Linked DNA regions of Homo sapiens: region 2 is linked to region 1. Evidence: promoter capture Hi-C in 16 types of primary human blood cells and fetal thymus (Javierre and others, 2016). All regions are on one chromosome and are shown on one strand. The core of a region is centred on a gene start or on the middle of the fragment in contact, and the rest is flanking DNA. Distances in the headings are between cores, read along the strand shown.

Region 1 (3,483 bases), core at 607-3,106:
GGGCAGTGAGAGTTGATTATGGTTATCTGTGGCTTCATTTGTATTGATGAGAAATGTGGTTACACAAAAATAAATAAGACAAATTGTCCTCAAAGAAGTGAAATTTTATGGAGTCAGACATGCAAACAGATCATTAAAAGGTGACCAGCACTATTATAATAGTCCTTACAGAGGAGGTAACAACCAAGTAAGGCTCTGAAGGATGAACAAGAGTTTGCCAAATGAAAAAGAGATGGACCAATATTCTAGCTAGGAGGAACCTCACATGCAGAGGCTTAGAGTTATGGAAAATGGAGAGATAAGTTAGGAGCAGATTGTAAAGAGGCACACCAGGAGATGTGGAATTTACTTTGTAGGCAATAGAGAACCAGCCCACCAGCCCAGACTTTCAAGTAGGGGGATCATGGAATCTTTTTTTTTGCGGGGGGGAAGGTATTTTAGAGGAAAATTTGGACAATTAGTTGAGAGGTGCAAGGTACCACCTGAATGGCAGTTGGGTAAGGACTAGAGTCAGAAGAACCACTGATGGGACTGTGGAAACAACTTGTGCAATGACCCAGCAGCCAGATATCATGCTGGTTCAGGAACCGAGGGAGGCTCTGTGAGGCCAGAGCACATTTGGCTGGAGAAGGAGGAGAGGATGGCAGTAGAAGGAGAAGGAAAAGAAGGCTGCTCACTTGCATGCAGATGCTGTGAGCTGACGGGGCAAGTTCAAATTGAAGTTAGAACAGACCACTGGGGTAGTCAAGACCTTGAAGGATGAACCTGTTTCTTTTTCATTCCTGAATCTTGCCCCAGCACCTTGGAGGCTGGGGGTGGAGGAGGTGGTGAGGTGGGGTGGGGTGGTGAGGAGCTCAGAAAATGTTTTCCTGAATTAGAGAACTGAAGGAATCAAGGCTCCGCTGAGCTCACTAAGCGCTGGAGCCTGCTGTAAGTGGTCAAGTCGGGTGATACCCAGCAGACAAGTAATTTGTGTGCAGACCGGAGTAGATTACGGAGGACCCAAGGGTCAGGCTAAGGATCCTGAACACCATCCACGATAGAGTGGAGACGTGCGCTTCGGAGCCTGAACTATGCAGCAAGCAGTGTGTTTACTCAAATACTATACAGTTGGAAAATCTTAATTCTCGATTTACATTGCCAAAAAAAAAAAAAAAAAATCTCCATAATACTCCCCCATTTGTAAATAAGCAAATCCGAACTAACCCTATTCCTTGGGACCAGAAGACCCAGTTTCTACCGCGGATAGATAGCATCCGCCTTATGCTAAAAGCTCTTTTTTCTGCGGTGGTGGGGGGCGGCGGGGAGTGTTTGGAAAGAACGGTTGCAAAAACAAAACAAAACCCCCAAAACCACTCACCCAATCTCAACCACCCCAACTGATGAATTTCGAAGAAAGTGCTTTTTAAAAAAGAAAAAACTAGAAGACCACAGACCTCCCACAGAAAGCTAAACCCATGAGAGTGGCATTCAAAAACTACCCATTTTCTGGAACATCTTTTGTAGCTAAATCCCAGCCATCCTAGCCCCGGAACACTCCCGCCCTCCGTCCCCGCACCCCCACCCCCGCCGCCACACGCGCTCGCAGGCTGACGGAGGTTGGCGGTGGGGCGGCCGCTCAGGTGAGGGGCCACCCAGTCCCTCGAGGCGCCGGCGGCTGGAGCCCATTCGCTGCCGTCGCAGCAGCAGGGCAAGAGGGGGTTGGCCAGGAGGGGAGGAGGCGGAGGACGCCCGCAGGGAGTGCGGGGGAGGGGGACGGGAGGACGCTAAGGAGAGCCGGGAGGGGCAAAAGCACGGCGCGGGGAGGGGGAGCGGAGAGGGCGGGAGCGGCGGGGGCGCGCGCCGGCGCGGGGCCAGCCTCGCTTCGCCAGGGTCGCTGGCGGACGCGCGCCGCAGTCCGAGCCTCAGACGCGCGGGCGCGGGGGACGGCGCAGGGGCCGCCTGGCTGGAGCAGCCAGAGGGGATAGCTTCGTCGAGAACGGAGGACACCGGCGGTCCAGGGTCCTGGGCAGTCGCGCCAGAGCTGAGCGGAGGGCGCGGCGCGAGAACGTAAGTAGCTCCTTGCGCGTCTGGCGGTGACACTGGGTCCTGCTCGGGGGTGACGGCTGGAGCGGAGGAGGACGCGCGAGGCTGCTGCGTTGTCACTTGGACACCGCCGCGGGGTTCAGCCGAGCGCTCACCGGGCTGGCAGCGCTGCAGGAGGGGCAAAGCAGATCTCCAACTCCCTTCTCCCCTGCAGGCCCCCGACACTCCCGCGGGCGCCGAGAGGGAGCAGGGGGACCTGCGCTTGGGTGAAGGCACAGCTGAAATCCAGCAGCGCCGGCACCCACCACCCCCTCCAGCCTGTGGCCAACTTCTGCTCCGCGCCCGCACCCCACGCTTTCCGGGAAGCCCTGCCCAGAGCTCTTGCTCGTGGGCAGTTGGGCATGGAGAGCCTGCGGGCCCGGCACGGCGGCTTCCCGGGCTTGGACACGGAGGCGCGGGGCGTCACGCCACAGTGCCGGCGGGGCGAGGAGCGCGGGGGCCGGGCCGGGAGCGCACGGGCGTGTGCCTGTTCGGGCCCCTGCGGACACGTCTGGGCGTGGGCTTTGTTCGGAAGTGCGTACACCTGTGCTGACCACGGAGTTCGGGGGCGAGGCCGACTTCGCTTCTCCAGTCGCTGCCTGGAGAGGGCTCGGGGAATCGAGGCGGAACGAGAGAGACACGGAGGACAGAGGGGTGGGGCGCTTGCGGGGGCTTTGTCGGCCTTACAGGTGCGGGTCCCGGGAGTCCCTGCGCCCCGCCCTGCCTCCGAGGGCTGGGACTTGTCGGGGCCGGCGCACCGGGCTGGGGGCTGCCTGGAAAGATTGCTTTCCCAGCCCAGGCTCTTAGCGGTGGGATCTGGCATCCGCTCCGCCCGGGATGCTGTGTTGAGCCAGGAGTGATTACCCGCCCTGGAGCATCCATCTCGCAGCGAGCGCCATCTGCGCCGAGCGCCGCCCCCGGCCCCCTCCACGCCGCGCGGGTGGGCGCTGCCGCATCCTGGTCCCAGGCGGTTGGCCAGCTCAGCTACTCCCGGCCCGCATCTGCTAGAGTGCGGAGGGGGACGGGGTGTCGCAGTAGGGTGAGCAAGGGAGTCGTCATTTCTCCCAAAGCGGTGTCCTCAGGGCCGCAAGCGCTGCTGGAGGGCTCCCCGGGCCCCGGGGCTGGCGAACAGGCCGCTTCCTTCCCCGGATCGCCTCCCCTCCCGCCCGCGCCCGCGGCCACATCTTCGTCCCCCGTACGCTGGCGGGTGGCCCCTGCGCCGCGGGCACCGAGGGAGGGCGCCGAGCGGTGGCGTTTCTTTCGCACCCCGCCTCTCTCCTTCCCTTTTCTTCGCATCAGGGGCTCCAGCCCTTGGCTACCACCGGCGCAGAACTGTCCTGAGAAGAAAGCTTTCTTTTCCTTTCCGAGTCCCAGATGGTTAACGCTCAGAAGTGCGGGTCTAAGAGACTGGGCTCTTCC
Region 2 (3,483 bases), core at 261-2,760, 35 kb before region 1:
TCTTTCTCTGCTTTTTCAAACTCAGCCTTTGCTGCAGAACAAGCCACTCCAAAACTTAGTGGCTTAAAACAATGATGATTTAGTCTCATGACTCTGTGGTTTGACTGGGTGTTTCTTCTGTTCTTGCCGGAGCTCACTTGGTGGCTCTACCAATGGGCCTGGGAAGCCTCTCTCTCCACCTGGTCATTCTCACCCAAGCTTCGTCTCATCATTGTGGTTTCAGAGTTCCCAGAGAGCAAGCCCCAGTGCATAAGCACTTATCAAGCCTCAGTTTAATGGCATGTTTGTTGAGGTCACATGGACGAAAGCCATGCCAACCAAGAGTCTGTATAGGAAGAGACTGTATACAATGACATGGATACCAGGACTGTGATTCACTGGGTGCCAGTATTGTTAATATTCTTCTATATCTACCTTCTGGCCTTTTTTGTCGTAGCATTTTTTCGCCCATTGTTTATTGAGAGGACTTTTATTTATTTATTTATTTTGCTGTGATAATTTTGTGTTATTTTAAGGGAACTATTTTATGCCATCAGTAGAATCTAGGCATGTTGATTTTTTTTTCATATTTTGACATCTCGGAAATAAACAATTACCATTGCTTTTTTTACAAGTTTATATTCATAAGTGAATTCACTAAAAGCATTTTAGGTTTTGAGAAAACCAAGATTTAAACAAATATAAAAATAAATAAATATGAACTTTGCCAAAAAGTGTGAAATCAGCATGCTCCTAGGATTTCTCTTGTAATTTTACAGTAAGAATTCTGTGAAAAGACAAAGAACCTTAAAAAGATAAAATGCATTGATCTTTATGTAGTAGAAATGTATAGATCAGGTTGGGAAAGACAAAAGATCTTGTCCATTTTGGAAAGTATTTTACATTGATATTTATTAAAGCTTATAAAGGGTAGATCACTGAGCAGTTTGTAAATATTCTTTTTATGAAGTTCACTAATATTCTAGTTGGGAAACATGAGTATTGTTTGAAAAACACATTAGAAAATGGTTTTACTCATGAGGAAGGCTGGTGAAACCATAGTCTTTGTATTCAATATAGGGAAAATACATAATTTTTAAGTCTGGAAAAGTCTGCATTGAAATAAAATTCTCTTATTATGGAATTGCAAAAATTGCTGCCCAAGGACAATTTCTGTAATGTCATAGTAATTCAAATGCCAACTCTGATGATTTTCAAAGCCATTTTCTTGATGACATTGGCTGTTACCAACTAAAACAAGCTTAAAGTCTCATTGTCCTCACCTGGTTACTCTAACTAGCCCGTGCATACTTCTGCAGTCTTATCTCAACACAGCTCCTTTATCCTATTGGCAGGACCCTGAAAACAACAGATTTATTTTGCCTTTGTGCCTTTAATCTGTATATGTCCTAGCTTTAAATATGTTGCCTTGCAGTCTTTCAATGTCTTCCTCCAGCAACCTTCCTGCATCTTTTCCAGTTACTGCCCCTCTGTTCGTTGCTCCACCTCAGAACTGTAGATACTTGCAGTTTGAATCAGAGGTTGATAAATAACTGCATATTGTTTCATGTGCATTAATGGAATTATAAGCCTCCTAGAGGAGAGTCTTACATGTTTTCCTTCATAGCACTTTGACAAAGCCATGGACAAATAGTAATTGCATACTGTATGTTTCCTGGTTGTTAGGAGATAAAGTCATTTTGATATAACTTATTTTTTTCTCCTTTAATAAAGGGATAGGATGGGATCTGCACTGATGATTGAAACAGCAAGAAACCCCACATGTCCTAAGGTAAGCTTAGAGTCTCTTAAATATAACACCTAGTTCCATCTGAAGGTCTGGTGAAAGCACTTGTCCTGAGGGCCATTTTATTTTATTTTATTTTTATTTTTTGAGACAGAGTTTCACTCTTATTGCCCAGGCTGGAGTGCAATAGCACGATCTCGGCTCACCATAACCTCCGTCTCCCAGGTTCAAGTGATTCTCCTGCCTCAGCCTCCCAAGTAGCTGGGATTACAGGCATGCACCACCACGCCTGGCTAATTTTTTTGTATTTTTAGTAGAGACAGGGTTTCTTCATGTTGGTCAGGCTGGTCTCAAACTCCCAAACTCAGGTGATCTGCCCGCCTTGGCCTCCCAAAGTGCTGGGATTACAGGCATGAGCCATCGTGCCCGGCCCTGAGGGCCCTTTTATTAAGGTATTACAGATTGTATTAATTCTTTATATATTGAGTCATTCTATGAAGAGATGGGATATCATCCTTATACCTTTTATAAATTCGGTAAAACTATACCAGAAATGGAAGAACATGAAAGATGGACTGAAAATAAGAATTATTTCATCATAATTTTAAAAATCAAATCTAGTGATTTAAGGAACATTATGACATTTTTTACCCTAGTTTTTTTTTTTTTTTGAGACGGAGTCTTGCTCTGTCGCCCAGGCTGGAGTGCAGTGGCACAATCTCGGCTCACTGCAAGCTCCGCCTCCCGGGCTCACGCCATTCTCCTGCCTCAGCCTCCCAAGTAGCTGGGACTATAGGCAGCCGCCACCACGCCCGGCTAATTTTTTGTATTTTTTAGTAGAGACAGGGTTTCACCATGTTAGCCAGGATAGTCTCGATCTCCTGACCTCGTGATTCGCCCACCTCAGCCTCCCAAAGTGCTGGGATTACGGGCGTGAGCCACCGCGCCCAGCCTTCTTACCCTAGATTTTTAAAGAGAAATTTTATATGCCTCTTAGATACAATACAATCATGCATCACTTAATGATAGGGATACATTCTGAGAAGTGTGTCATTAGATTATTTTGTCATTGTGCAAGTATTATAGAGTGTACTTAGACATACTTAGATGGTATAGCCTACTACACATGTAGGCTAAATGGTATAGCCTATAGTTCCTAGGCTATAAACCTGTGTTATAGAGTGTACTTAGACATACTTAGATGGTATAGCCTACTACACATGTAGGCTAAATGGTATAGCCTATAGTTCCTAGGCTATAAACCTGTACAGCAGGTGACTATACTGAATACTGTAGGCAATTGTGACACAATGATAAGAATACTTACGTATCTACAGATATACAAATATCTAGATAAAAAATATCTATAGAAAGATACAGTGAAAAATACAGCATAGAAGCCCGTTTATAGTCTTATGGGACCACTGTTGTATATGCGGTCCATCATTGACCAAAACATTGATATGCAATGCATGACTATATTAGATTATATTATTATAAAAATTGAATCCCCATTAAAATTGTAATGTCACTTAGATGTGTCTCAATGTGGCTCTTCATTTATTTGTGTGTTTGAAACCCAATGATCTGAGTGTTGCTTGAGTTCTGTTTAATATTACTTGTTTAAAGAATAGAATTTATGTGCCTAGAAATTTCATGCAGCTTGTATTTATTCTCAGATAACGAACTGTAACCATGAAAAATCAAACAAGTGCAGCTCTTTCTGTTGCTCTTAACTATGGCATACTCATACTTTG

What was found. Contacts are between HindIII fragments. The CHiCAGO score rates a contact against its expected background, and 5 or more counts as called.
Region 2: a contact is called between a fragment that was not itself captured here and the fragment with the promoter of NRCAM in region 1, in 1 of 17 cell types (naive CD8 T cells). The highest score is 5.7, in naive CD8 T cells.

Annotation. Positions count from the first base shown.
Region 1 is chr7:108,454,809-108,458,291 of GRCh38, reverse strand. It overlaps NRCAM (neuronal cell adhesion molecule), which reads left to right and starts at 1,856. Exons shown (of 33, transcript NM_001037132.4): 1 at 1,856-2,049. The HindIII fragment of the contact is 7,436 bases long and covers 1-3,415 here.
Region 2 is chr7:108,489,698-108,493,180 of GRCh38, reverse strand. PNPLA8 (patatin like domain 8, phospholipase A2) reads left to right here. Exons shown (of 11, transcript NM_001256007.3): 8 at 1,714-1,771. Among named protein-coding and RNA genes, the nearest start is that of PNPLA8, 35 kb to the left of the region's middle. The HindIII fragment of the contact is 536 bases long and covers 1,243-1,778 here.